Linked DNA regions of Homo sapiens: regions 2, 3 and 4 are each linked to region 1. Evidence: promoter capture Hi-C in 16 types of primary human blood cells and fetal thymus (Javierre and others, 2016). All regions are on one chromosome and are shown on one strand. The core of a region is centred on a gene start or on the middle of the fragment in contact, and the rest is flanking DNA. Distances in the headings are between cores, read along the strand shown.

The links. The method cuts DNA at HindIII sites, captures the fragments that hold promoters and counts their contacts. A CHiCAGO score of 5 or more calls a contact.
Region 2: a fragment that was not itself captured here is called in contact with the fragment with the promoter of ATP11B in region 1 in 5 of 17 cell types (naive CD4 T cells, naive B cells, M0 macrophages and 2 more); the score reaches 7.6 in naive CD4 T cells.
Region 3: a contact is called between the fragment with the promoter of ABCF3 here and the fragment with the promoter of ATP11B in region 1, in 4 of 17 cell types (neutrophils, fetal thymus, naive B cells and 1 more). The highest score is 12.0, in neutrophils.
Region 4: a contact is called between a fragment that was not itself captured here and the fragment with the promoter of ATP11B in region 1, in 1 of 17 cell types (M1 macrophages). The highest score is 6.2, in M1 macrophages.

Annotation. Positions count from the first base shown.
Region 1 is chr3:182,791,947-182,795,397 of GRCh38, forward strand. ATP11B (ATPase phospholipid transporting 11B (putative)) reads left to right here and starts at 1,558. Exons shown (of 30, transcript NM_014616.3): 1 at 1,558-1,840. The coding sequence starts at 1,814. ATP11B-DT (ATP11B divergent transcript) reads right to left here and starts at 1,418. Exons shown (of 3, transcript NR_187316.1): 1 at 1,134-1,418. RefSeq lists a silencer at 1,393-2,142. The HindIII fragment of the contact is 13,212 bases long and covers 1-3,409 here.
Region 2 is chr3:180,937,175-180,940,625 of GRCh38, forward strand. The region is part of intron 3 of FXR1 (FMR1 autosomal homolog 1); the gene reads left to right. Among named protein-coding and RNA genes, the nearest start is that of FXR1, 26 kb to the left of the region's middle. The HindIII fragment of the contact is 2,077 bases long and covers 636-2,712 here.
Region 3 is chr3:184,184,617-184,188,067 of GRCh38, forward strand. It overlaps ABCF3 (ATP binding cassette subfamily F member 3), which reads left to right and starts at 1,583. Exons shown (of 21, transcript NM_018358.3): 1 at 1,583-1,664; 2 at 1,891-2,038; 3 at 2,180-2,259; 4 at 2,781-2,827; 5 at 3,048-3,145; 6 at 3,245-3,367. The coding sequence starts at 1,592. RefSeq lists enhancers at 376-1,090, 1,568-1,887. The HindIII fragment of the contact is 6,180 bases long and covers 1-3,451 here.
Region 4 is chr3:181,689,646-181,693,096 of GRCh38, forward strand. All of the region lies in intron 5 of SOX2-OT (SOX2 overlapping transcript), which reads left to right. Among named protein-coding and RNA genes, the nearest start is that of SOX2, 21 kb to the right of the region's middle. The HindIII fragment of the contact is 3,000 bases long and covers 333-3,332 here.

The DNA of each region.
Region 1 (3,451 bases), core at 308-2,807:
CTTCCTTTTAGGGTCATAAAGTAAGGTTTAGCCACAAGAATAAAAGTAAGATGACTTTTCAAATATCTAGCTATTTTTTGAAGTTGGATGATTTATAATATAAAATTCCATGTTGGTTTTACAGATCATAAATATCCCCAAAGAAAGATTCTATTTGTGGTGCTGGATAAGCATTATATAGTAAGAAATGTCTACTGAAACTAGAAGATTGAGGATGCATATTCAACGACCTGCCTAGTCATGCTAATCTCATTTAGATTTGTTCTTGCTTAATTTTTTTTTTTTTTTTTTTTTTTTGAGACGGAGTCTCCTTCTGCCGCCCAGGCTGGAGTGCAGTGGCGCCATCTCGGCTCACTGCAAGCTCTGCCTCCCGGGTTCACGTCATTCTCCTGCCTCAGCCTCCCGAGTAGCTGGGACTACAGGCGACCGCCACCACGCTCGGCTAATGTTTTGTATTTTTTAGTAGAGATGGGGTTTCGCCATGTTAGCCAGGAAGGTCTCGATCTCCTGACCTCGTGATCCACCCGCCTCGGCCTCCCAAAGTGCTGGGATTACATGGGATTACAGGCGTGAGCCACCGCGCCCGGCCGCTTAATTTTTTTTTTTTTAACCACAAACGTCTGTCGGTGAAGTGTGCTTTAATTCAGCAAAAATACAGCATTCAATACATATACATAACACAATATGTATACGGGGCTGCTTTTAAACAACGCCAAACCTTTAAGTCAAAGCCTTGTTCCAGTTGCTTGTATATTCCTTCTGAGCTTGTCATCCACACACTTTTTTAACCTAGGTCAAGTTACTGCTACGGGTGTTTTTGATTGCAGAAGTTTGGCAGTTAGCAGTAAAGAACTACCTTTTTATACAAATTATCTTCCCCTGAACCTGTCCAATTTAGCACACGGCAAGACAGAATATCTCATCCATTCGCCTAGAAACACGGGTCCAGGCTGTACCAGGCTCAGGGGACTTGCAACGCTTTCGAATCACTTAATGGGTGTGATCAAGATTTCCCTAGCCCCGTCTCAGCCATTTGCTAAAGAAGAGGCCTGACTTGTGTTGAGACGAAAGCTCTTACAGCTTGATGGAACCCAAACTGGGACTTCTGGGGGGATTAACTTTCAGTCACATACGTTCAGGACTGTGCGTATGCGTGTCGGGAGACGCGTGAACCAAAGAAGCCACAGAGCCCGAAAAAGACCTGCAACAGGAGGTAGAGACCGAGGAATCGGCCCCAAGCTGCAGACTCCGGAGATGGCCAGACCCACAGACACGACTTAATCCCACTCCCAGAACGGGGAGGAGGGTGGCAGTGGACAGAAACAGCGTTCGAGAACCCGGCACCTTTCCACGCTCGCTTCTTCCCGGACCCACAACACAGAAACCCCCCAACTCGGAACGGCGGCGGGGCGCGCCAGGCCCCCCTCGGTCCGCGCACCCCCTTTCGTCACGTCCGGGGGCGGGCCGGGGCGCCGGGGGCGGTCCCGGGTGGAGCCGGGGGGCCGGGCGGGGCGGGGCGGGGGTGGGGTTGCGGGGGTGCTTTGGGTGACAACGGTCAATAATGAAGGTGGCTGCGGCGCGGCGGCAGGCTCAGCTGCGCCGGGCGGGGGCGGCGCCGGGGCCGCGCCTGTAGGACTCGGGGCCGACGCCGCGGGATGGGGACGCGGCGCGGGGAGTGAGGCAGTGGCGGCGGCGGCGGTAAGCGGAACTTCGGCCCGAGGGGCTCGCCCGCTCCCGCCTCTGTCTTGTCGGCCTCCACCTGCAGCCCCGCGGCCCCCGCGCCCCGCGGGACCCGGACGGCGACGACGGGGGAATGTGGCGCTGGATCCGGCAGCAGCTGGTAGGTGCCCCCGCCCCTCCACCTCCATTCGTCCGCCCCCGCGGGGCCTCTCGGCCCGGGGTGGCGGGGAAAGGCCGGCGGCGCGGAGCCGGGAGGCCAGGGCGTGGGCGCCCGGCTAGGCCGCAGCGGAGACGGGCGCGGGGCCCAGAGCCGGAGAAGCCCCGTGCGGCTCCCGGGCTCGTCTCGCCTCCAAGCCCGGGCCGCCGAGGCTGGCGCCGAGCGGCCGGAGGCGGCCGCTTCTAGCCGGCGCTTCTCCGTTACTTCTTCCCCCTTGCCGCTCCGGGGCTGCTGTGGCCAGAGGCGGGAGTCCCGAGCGGGGTGGCGGTGCCCCCAGAGGAAACAGGGCGAGGGAGCTGAGCGAGAGTAGGTCTTGGGGAGATGAGAGAGGCGTGCTCTTCCTGCCTCGAACAATTTGGGACGTGTTTGGGTGAAGGGGAAGCGAAGAACCTGTCTTCTGCCCCCACTCGTCACGGACTTCTGGAAGCGTGTCACGATCCAGAGCTGTGTTGATTCCCGAGGAGGAGGCTGTCGTAGGTGTCTAGCCCCCTCAGCGAGAGACGTTTCTCCCCAGGACCTGGAAAGGGGAAAGACTGTGCCAGCTGCCGGTCTAGCTTCGGAAACGATACGTATTGTACGATAGTTACGAACGATACGTACTGTCGTTTCCTTCCTACCTCGTCCTCACCCCACCCCGAGTGAAACTTTTCGAGTGTGAACCTTACTTTTTTCCCGTTCTCCTCAAGGCAGTTTGAACGACACAGGTTTGGAAGGAATAGTTAACTCTCCAGTATTATTGGAACATCTGGACACCACCAACAAAAAATCTTAGAAAAGGGTCATTTAAGGCCTATAAAAAGTGCCACCTTTCCCAGAATTAATTCAGAGAGAAAAATCTTATCTGCCTCCTGGCAGCTACAGCGCAGAAAGTACAGCATTAAGGCAGCTGTGACAATTAGGACAGAAATTGCCCCTGGCTGAAGAAGCCTAACCTTATCTGTGTGATGAGGCCGGTTACTATTTAATTTCTAAATCGCATTAACTTAATGCTTCTACAAGTTGGCGTTTTCATTTACTAATTCTAAAGGCAGTGGTAAAATTTAGTGAAACAGGAACTATTTTTGTGGGACGAAAGCACTGATAACTCTTTTTCCCTTCTGCTCTAGAAAAGCATTTTAACGTTAAGACCAAGAAGTGTGGTGTTTCAGAGCCAGCCTTCTGTTACTTCGTTTTGCAGCGGGCATCATTCTCAAAAAAAAAAAAAAATTATAAATAAGAACTGCCTACCACTCCCTCCTACAAATGTTGGGTCTCTGTTTTTAGCATTGTAAATTCAGATATCCCAGATATATGCTTTATTAGGAAACCAAGCTAATGATGTCATTATAATACCATCTTGTAATACTTTGGCTTTGTTGCAGTAAGCTGTAGCACAGTAATTTTACTCAGAAAGTTAATTATTACAGATTTGATCTTATGCTTTTGATTTGCCAAATCTTCTTGTATAGAGGGCTGATTTACCTGATGGTGTTTTTGTGTGGTAGGAAGATCATTTTAAAGTGGTTCTCTTGAAGCTTTTTTAAAAATGTATTGAGACATCCTTTCTCACTGTTA
Region 2 (3,451 bases), core at 424-2,923, 1.9 Mb before region 1:
GGATTTTGAGTAAGCAAAAGTTAGGTCAAGCAAGGAATGATGTAGGTTTGGACATGTTCTAGAATTAGAAATGTGTGGCACTCAGTTTTGAGAGTAATGCTTCTTACACTTTTTTGTTGTTTAGACACTTAAAATTGGTAGCGTCAAGTCTCAGATTAAAGGGAAAACTACTCTTGGTGGGGTGGTGAGGGTGTTGTTACAGTGTACTTTTTCCATTCCTGTCCAGGAGGGTCCTTCCCTGTTCCTGAACAGTCTGGCTCACCCCTGTGGTCTGCCTCCGCTTTTGTGAAGAAGACATTGGTGTTAGAGATTGAATGATTTAGAAATTGAATCTAGAGTTTTTTTTAAATTTCACGTTATGTTTTATGATTCAGCTCTGGTCAAATTTGCTCTCTAGAATTTTGTAAGTCATTATCTGAAATTAAAATGTGATTTTTTTTCACTTTTGAAAAATTTAAAAATTAATATAAGGAAAAAGTTTAAGCATAATCTTGCCACCCATAGGATTTTGTTTTTTTGTCACCGTTTATTAAGGATTTATCCATATTACGTAGAGTGTTTAGAAATTCGGAGTTAGTGCTTTCCCAGGTAACGTTTCGAAAGCCTCTTCCCCTTCTTTAAATTTAAAGTAATAAAGCTTAATGTAAAAAATGAAATGGTAAAAAATTATATAAAGTACAAAGTAAACCTTCCATCTTAATGTAGGTGTACTTGTCCACCCACCCTATCTTAAATCTCATTTACCAGAGTTGATTCTCTTGTAAGTTTTTTATTTGCATGTATAAAGGACATATTTAAGTTGAAAAAAAATTGGGATTAAGTTATATATTTGTGACTTTTGTATTCACTTAATTAGGACAGCAAACATTTTCGTGTCTTCTCATTTAAATTTACCTCATTTTTTGTAACCACCTCAAAATTATTTGGTGTGGATATATCAAATTAAAAGACATTGAAATTACCAGATTTTTTGCTGTTAGCAAAAGAAAACAATGCCAGAGTTAAAGTTAATATTCTTATGCAAGTCTGGTAGTATAATTCCTAAGAGGTTAATGTTTTTAAAAGTATTAAAATGTACCATTTCATCCTCCAAAAATGTCTTCAGAATTACTTTATACTTTTATTAACACTGGAGGTATCTTTTTCATACATTAAGTGACTGTATTATATTGTTCATATGTACAGTTTTGTAAACTTGGTGGATGGAAACTGATGTCTCATGAATTCTCATTTCCTTAATGAATAGTAGTATGGGAACATCACTTAAATTAGTTGGTTGGCTCTTAACCCCTTGTTCTGTGAATTGTCTATTTTTTGTTTGTGCAGTTTTTGGTGTAGGAAGTCCTTGCATTTTATGGCTGAGTTTTATTTTTTTATTTTATTTTATTTTTGAGATGGAGTTTTGCTCCTGTTGCTCAGGCTGGAGTGCAATGGTGCGATCTCGGCTCACTACAACCTCCACCTCCCGGGTTCAAGCGATTCTCCTGCCTCAGCCTCCCTAGTAGCTGGGATTACAGGCATGCGCCATCATACCCGGCTGATTTTGTATTTTCAGTAGCGACGGGGTTTCTCCATGTTGGTCAGGCTGGTCTCAAACTCCCGACCTCAGGTGATCAGCCTGCCTTGGCCTCCCAAAGTTCTGGGATTACAGGTGTGAGCCACTGTGCCCAGCCCTGAGTTTTTATCTTTTTTGTGTTTTTTTCTTAGGCAATTTTTTTATTTTTTATTTTTTATTTTTTGAGATGGAGTCTCACTAAGTTGCTCAGGTTGGAGTACAGTGGCACAATCTCAGTTCACTGCAACCTCCACCTCCCGATTTTAAGTGATTGTCGTGCCTTGGCCTCTGAGTAGCTGGAATTACAGGTGTGAGCCACAATGCCCAGCTAATTTTTTTATTTTTAGTAGAGATGGTGTTTTGTGATGTTGGCCAGGCTGGTCTCGAACTTCTGGCTTCAAGTGAACACCCGCCTCGGCCTCCCAAAGTGCTGAGATTATAGGCGTGAGACACTGCGCAGGCTTACTTTTACATTTTTAAATTATGTTTTCTACATCTGCTTCCCTGCACTATTTTTCCCTTATACCGGTGGGGGGGTGTGGGTGGTAATCCTTTTAGGTTGCTTCATATCTGATCGCCTTAGTTATGAAATGTAATTTTTTGGTCAATAAACACTTTTTCTTAAAATTTTTCTGGGATTGTGCAAAATAGCAGAGGTAAACTGTCATTCTTCAATCATACTTAGAGATGGTCAGGCTCGATTGTTTACTGGTTTATTATAAAGGATACAAGTCAGGAACTGCCAAATGAAAGAGATGCATGAGGCAAGGTCGGGGTGAGGGAAGGGGCTTGGAAAGTAGAGCTTCCATGACTTCTTTGAGCATGCCACATTTCCAGCCCATCAATAGATTCACCAGCCCGGGAGCTCTACCATCATACTTTTTAAACAGATTATTTCAGAGTCACAAAACGGTTTGTGTCCTCTTCTTAACTGTGTGAATACTTTATTAGCTTGTCCAAGGTTAGTCTGGAGGTTGGGAAGCTGATAACCAGTTTCATTTTTTGTTTTTCCAAATGTATTCAGAGGGTTTGGTCAGTTTTGTGCCAGACTCACAACATTCTTCTGCAGCTCTAGGAATCCTTTGAAGGAAAGAAAAGGTGACTTTGCCCTTAGTAATAAATTTAGAACAAAAATGATCCAAGAGAGAGCTTTATTAAGCTTGTAAGGTGATTTTTAAAGACTTGAGCCATAAGAAATTTCCATTCTTGTAGGTCAGAAATGGTTAAGTATTGACAGTTTCATATGGTTTACACTAACATTTTGTTACATTAAAAATATATTGGTTGCTTAAATACAGGGTTTGCCTTTCTAGCCCCTTAGGAAATTTACATGAAGTTACAGCACATAAAGTAATGTCATGGCCCAGCAGTGGACCCAAGAAGACAACATATGATTTATAGTAGAAAGTTAATTTTGAAAAGGTCTAAAATGGAAATATTTATTTTTATACCTAATTAGTGGTTTTTTATTTGCCTTTTAAAAATGGTGTCATCTCTTTAAAAATCTTCATAACACTTAATAGTAAATATTTCATAAGTATTTGCTTAATGATTGATTTTTGCTGACTAAAGATTGCTAGAAAAATATGCTCCGCCTGTAAAGTTTGAAGGTAATGTGAAAATGAAGAGTTCTTTAGATTTCGTTTACATTGGGTATCTAGTACAGTGTTTTGGGCTCTTGGAAGGGCAGTAGAAATATCCCTCCTCCCTCATTTCACATGTAACATTTTTGCTTTTTATTTTAGATATCTGCCTTGCTCAGCAAGTAATATATAAGCAACACACATAGACACGTTACATAGTAAGCCTGACATCTAAGGTGATAACGTGTTTAGTTTTTGTTTTTTTCTGTTTTCTTTTTTTTTTGGAGATGGAGTTTCGGTCTTGTCCAGGCTC
Region 3 (3,451 bases), core at 333-2,832, 1.4 Mb after region 1:
GAATAACATAATGGACTGGGCGCGGTGGCTCACACTGTAATCCCAGCACTCTGGGAGGCCGAGACGGGTGGATCACCCGAGGTCCGGAATTCGAGACCAGCCTGACCAACATGGGGAAACCTCGTCTCTACTAAAATTACAAAATTAGCCGGGCGTGGTGGTGCATGCCGGTAATCCCAGCTATTCGGGGGCTGAGGCAGGAGAATCGCTCGAACCCAGGAGGTGGAGGCTGCGGTGAGCCAAGATCACGCCACTGTACTCCAGCCTGGGCAACAAGAGCGAAACTCCTTCTCAAATTAAAAAAAAAAAAAAAAAGAATATAATGAATCTCCATGTCTCATCACCCAGCTTCAACTATGATCAATGCGTGGCCAGTTCCTTAATATCACATCCAGTTTGTGTTCACTTAACCAGGTGTCTTATCAAATTTTTCCAGATAAGGTCCATTGTGGTTGGTTAATGCTCCTCAAATTTTAAAAATTGATGTTTCCCTTCAGGTCTTGCAATTTTGTGGAAGAAACCAGAGTTCTGTAGTTTACCACATCAGAATTTGCCTGTTGTCCCCATGAAGTCACTTAACATATTCCTCTTTACCTGTATTTCCTGTAAAATGGTTCAATATCGGGATTGATGCCTCATGATGGCAATGTTTAATCCAAAGGGATGAATGGGTAATAATGTAATTTTCGGTGCCACTTTTAGAGACCAATTGGAGGAATATTCACGTTAAATATAAAGCAGTAGCATCATTTTGGAGGAAATTCCTAACTTCCCGAGGGAATCGGTGAAAGGAAATAGCCTTTTATTGGCATTTATTGAGTGCAGAGAAGTCTGCTCAGGGTGTAGGTAGGGAATAATTTATACAGGCCACGTTGTCCTGGTTTTCTTGCCCTTTGGCGGTGGATTTGGTCGTGCCCTGGGGTGGTGGAAGAACTGAATGGGCTTAATTCACAAAGGTCGGCTGAATTACACAGTGAAAAGGCGGTCGCGGCGGGGAGGCGGGTGGCGCTGGCCACCAGGCTGAGAAGCCCGTAGGGTCTGGGGACCCGCGAAAGCAAAGCACTGAGCAGGGGGCTTCTGAGAGTCAGGGACCGGGGTGAGTCAGCAAAGCTCTGGGCAGGCTCCAAAATGGGCCTGACTGGGTACGCACCAGCAGCAGACGCGCCTCGAGGGAGCGCATAAAACCTGGCAAAGCCAAAGTGCTTTATCAGCCGCCTGCCTCTTGGGAGGCTCCCACCCGCCAGACCACGGGTGCCTCGCGGCCCCGATAAACCTTGAGCTCCCAGCCTTTGCCCCACCCCTCGCTCCCGGAACTCCACCTCCCAGAAGGCAGCGAGAACCGCACATGTGGCTAATCTTTCAGCGGAAAAGGTGTCGCGCACGCGCAGAGAGCGCGGCTCCGGCGCAGACTCGGCGCCTCTCCTCAAGGCCCCGCTCGCCCCGCCCACCGGGCTCTGCGCACTCCGCTCCTTTCCTGCGTCACCGCTACACATGCGCCTTGCAAGGAAGGGCGAGATTTCGGGGGCAGGGCGGGGGGCGGGCCTAGGCCGGGGTCTCACAGCGACTGCGCGGACGGGTTCCTGAGTGGAACATGGCGACTTGCGCCGAAATCCTGCGGAGCGAGTTCCCCGAAATTGACGGACAAGTCTTCGACTACGTGACCGGTAAGCAGAACTGAATCGGCCGGCTGGGGAGACCGAAGTGGAGGCCGGGGGAAAGTCTAAGCGAGCGTCGTGCCCGGGACTGTTGCCAGGCCTCTCCTCTGCATGACCTCTTGTCCCGGGGGCTGGTTGGGTCTGGAGCCTGGACTGGGGCCTCTGTCTGGGGTCTGAAACTGCTTGTGTGTCCACCCTACCCGATACCTTCCTCGTTCTACCACGCCCTGCCCAGGCGTCTTGCACAGCGGCAGCGCGGACTTCGAGTCTGTGGATGACCTGGTGGAAGCTGTAGGGGAACTATTGCAAGAGGTGTCCGGGGACAGCAAGGATGACGCGGGCATCAGGGCCGTGTGCCAGCGCATGTACAACACTCTGCGTCTGTATGTGCCAGGGAGTAGGGGTTGATGGGGGCGAAGGGACGGCGAACGGTCCGGAGACAAGAGGTGGGGGAGGAAGATCTGATGGCCATAGAGCTTTTCCCTCAACTCCTAACTCTGCGCTTTCTATCCCTACCCACATAGGGCTGAGCCACAAAGCCAGGGAAATAGCCAGGTGCTACTGGACGCCCCTATCCAGTTGTCAAAGATAACGGAGAACTACGGTGAGAGTGAGGGGAGGTTGAACTAACTGCCCCCCTGTGCTTTTCTCCGCCCCCAACCATCTGCTGCCTGCAGCTTAGGGCTCCTACGTCTTTTCCACAGGACAAGGTTGTAGGAGCTAGTTGATGTCTTTACCGAGGGCAGAAGAGCCCATGATGGGGGTGGGGAGGAGGTTGGAGGGTTCTCCCTCCAAGCTCTTGGGTAGGATAGGAAGCATAAGAGCCTGGAGCTGGACAGACTTGCTTTCACCCCCAGTTTTGCAACTTGCTAACCAGCTGCATGATCTTGTAAGAGTTGGTTATCTGTCCCCAGCCTTGTCTATGCCTCTGTATCCTTCTACGTGAGTTTTGTTTTGTTTTGTTTTGTTTTGTTTTTAGTGCAGGGAAGATAATAGCCATCTATCTGCAGTATTATAAGGTTTTGTAGAAAACATCTGTGTCTGTGCCTGGTTCCTATTAGTCACTCAAAATGTTAGTTTCCCTTCCCTCAGGGAGAAGGTGACTGCTTTTCTTATCGCTTACAGACTGTGGAACCAAACTTCCAGGACTGCTAAAGAGGGAACAGTCCTCGGTGAGGAGGAGGAAGCAAGGGAGGGGACTGTCTGTGATGGGGTTGGGAGTTGACTGTCTAATTGGAGTATCTTTTGGGGGGATTTCTGACTATGTCTTTTCCTGAGCCTTTGAGTCTGTTCATCATGGGTAAGTTAAGAGGGTTTACTCGAGATGTTCTCTCTTGGGGTTCCTTTCTGAGCCTACACCCGAGAGTGAAGTCGATGTGTTTGGACCCTTAGACAGTGAATGCAAAGAAGTTAGAGAAGGCCGAGGCTCGACTTAAGGCAAAGCAGGAGAAGCGCTCAGAGAAGGACACGCTCAAGACCAGCAACCCTCTGTGAGTGGGGGAAGCATGGCTCAGAAGAGAGCAGAGCAGCTTTTGCCTGGACAGAAGGTGGTGGGGAGCACTAAGAGCTGTCCATTTCTCCCTTTAAAGAGTCTTAGAAGAGGCATCAGCCAGCCAGGCAGGCAGCAGAAAGGAGAGTCGGTTGGAATCATCTGGCAAGAACAAATCCTATGATGTGCGAATTGAGAACTTTGATGTGTCTTTTGGCGATAGGTGAGGGAATAGTGGTGGCAGGGGTTGGCTTTCTTTTTCTAATTAGAGGACAATTTGGAGAGGTGAAACGGGGCTATAAACAAT
Region 4 (3,451 bases), core at 583-3,082, 1.1 Mb before region 1:
ATGGGGCAAGCCTAGGATACTACCTAGGAAAGATCAGCCTGGATTAAGACACTTAATGAAAGAAGATGAGGGAAGTAGGCACAAGCCGGGGGAGGCGATAGCACAAAAGAGGGTAGAAGATGAGAGCACGCTGACTGCAAACTGTGTGTGTTTCAGAGGGTGGATTTCCTAGCTCTGACTTCTAGCAAATAATTTTCAAAATGTAAAGTGGACCCTAACAAAGTACTATTCTTATCAATCCAAGAGTGCCAAGCAATCAAGGAGAGAGATTTACAGACAATGTACTTTCAAATTCACAATGCAAACTCTAAAGTAATATGTATTTTCTTATAAGCTTAACTTTAGTAAAGAATGATTTTTGAAGTTCACTCAAATATCTAATATTTGCAGATATCCTTATTTCATTACTTTGCTCCAAATATTTAAAACCAGATGAAAAAAAGTAATGTCCTTAAGGAGTCAAATTCATTATTAAAATAAGATATTTTCCAAGTTGTTTGGAAAATGGTTTACTTTCTTTTTTTCCCCCTTTACTAGACCTCAAAATACACTGAGTTTTCCTCACTGGTAAAGAAATAAAACATTGAGAAGTATCAAGTGAATCCACTTGAACAGGCTTCAAAACCATACCACTAACGTATTATTTTAAAATGTTTCTCTAAGACGCATTTATTACAAGGGAACACTCTTTAGGAAGCATTAACACTCACAGTCCCTAAATTTTAAATTGGTCCCTAATATTCCATTTGGTAATCAATATCCTCCTTTGCTCCTCCCCCACCCTCTCAGATGGCCTTATTCTCTGTCAGTATCTATCACATTTTCTTTTTTCTTTTATCACCTTCTTCATTCTTAATCCTTCCTTTTGGGCCAAGCTGTCTGCCCTTTATAGCTATATTTACTTCCTCCTTCTCTTTCCCCTTTAACTCTTTGTAGACCTTTAGATTATGAATGCTGAAATTTGTGATTCATTGTTTTTGCCTTATTGACCTCCTATTAATAAAATTTGCCTCCTCCACAAGATTATTCTAAGAAAGCATACTTTTAAGCATCCACAACTATTGCCCAAAGAGAGACAACCATTTGGTTCAACTTCATATGTGTTAAGCCAAATGTATTCAAAAATGATTTCCTACTCCGATTCTTATTCAGTATTTTCTGTGATTCTCCTTTATTATACCTTTCTAGTGCAATGGAAACTTCAGCTATCTGTGGTCTAGTCTGAACTGTACCTGGGGTAGTGACAATGGCCTTCTGACCCTATGGCTCTTCCTGACTGTGGATAGAATTGATAGCACTTTTTCAATTTCTCCCTTGTCTTTGCTTGAACATACTGGAATTACAACCTCTGACAAAGGTAACATCCCTTTTGTAGTGGAAACAAAAGGGGTGTGTAATGAATTGGTTAAGATTACATTGCATGTTTAGATGATGAAATCCAACTGCAGCTCAATTCCTTTATTTCCTCTCGCTGGACCTGGTCTTTCAATAAGACATTATTGACTGGCATCTTCCCCAGAACAGGTGCTTAGGAATATAGTCTTGCTGCTTTGAGTCCTTTAGACTGGAAAACAACTATGGAATAGGTCAAGAGAATCAGGTATGAGACAATAATGCCCAGTATCTTAGGACATCCACTGTAGATGATTCATATCCAGGTGGTATTAATGGAATAAAGGGTCCTTAGACTTATATGGGGAGCTAGAGCTTTTCAAATTAACTAAGGTGGCAGGATATGAGTTACAGGTTTATTTGCCATTTTTCTGCAAAAATTCTATGACCAGGAGGAGATAGAGGAGGAAGGCAATTTTTAAAATAATTCACCACTATAGATTGTGCTATAATGATATTATAAAAGGAATTTTTAATTTTTATGAAGATGAAATCAATGCCACAATGTGTGGTATTAACAAATGCTATCTTTTTACCACAAATCATATCACCTTTGGTTACTCTGGATAGCAAATTATTGGCCTCTTTCTTCTTTTTCCCTTAAATTACTTTGGCTTGTGGTTTGTCTTTTTTTTTATTTTTCAAAAACAAGATCGCTTACAATTTTTGCTTTTAAAAATGATATAATACCCATATTGGCTGCAGAAAATATTTAAAATGTGTGCTTTTCAAAGAATGATCAGATCATTTATTCATCTTTAGATAAAGATGATTATATTCATCTCAATTATTTTTGCCAAGGACTGTAACACTAATTTTACTCTTTCTAAAAATTAAAATAGCAAACAGTTTATATAAGGTGTTGATAATTACCTATATTATTGTACTGCTGTGACAGATGTTGGCAAAAAAGCCTAAAATGCCTACAGCTGTGCACTCCATGACATCTAGTTTATACTCAGACAGAAGGCTAACAGATGTTCTGAACTGTCACTTTGCCTAAATGTTTTTAAAGTCTAAGGACCTGCTTTATAATTCGCCGGAGTCTGGTTTGGTTTCACAGAGGTTCTCAGAATTCCCATCTGTGACAATTAATGCTGAAGACATTGATAAATCAACCCTTGTGTTTTCTCTCTTCTTTAACAGACATCAGTTTATACATGGATGGTAGATTGTGAAGGCTGTTTTTATATACATCCTGTTTGTAAAATTATCTCCTTAAACACAGATAGAATTGGGCTATAAGAATACATGGAGGTTTGTTTTGAGCCATGGAAAGGGCCAGGAAATCACCTATTATTTTCTTTCTGCTAAATTTTATGCACCTTGGAAGTAAAATGTTAACCATTTCCAATGACAATTTTCCAAAGTTATATTTGTTCTAGTGAATAAAAAAAGTTTTTATTTTTATTCAGCATGTTAACAGTTCTGCTCATAACAATAACTCTTAATTGTGCAGCCTGTTAGAAAAATGAAAGAAGACAATAAATGGCATTGAGAAAGGACACAGCACATCTTCTCCAGCTTGACACCCTAATACTTCCTCTTCCCAAACATACCTTCAGATCCCTCATACAGAATTACTGCCCCGTGCAAAGGCCATCAATGCCTTATTTGCTGTTGCTCTTAATTTTAACAAGCTGGATTCCTGTAGTACACTTGCTTAATAGTTTAAACATTCTGTTAACAATCAGGTGTTTGGCCTATCCTGTTTCTCCTCTATTCTGTAAAGAAATATAACTCCAAATAGTACATCTTTCTGGGTTTGTTTCTAAATTAGTCCCCACACTTAATTATGAGGATGAGAGGGATGCCTTATTCCTCTTTGTTATAGGCTAAGCTCTCAGTAATCCCAAACAAAAGAGCCAGTTCTGGAAGATATAGGATTTGCTAGCAGGATTATGGTCTCATAGATAATGATGTGCAGTCAGCAGAAGCGAAGCTTTATTTTAATTCAAATAAGCTAGTAAACAAACCACTGACAAGTCTGCTGGTGAGAGTAACTGGCTGCTGTTGCCACATTGGCAGCAAAATTATAGAAAATCTATTATACCCTGTT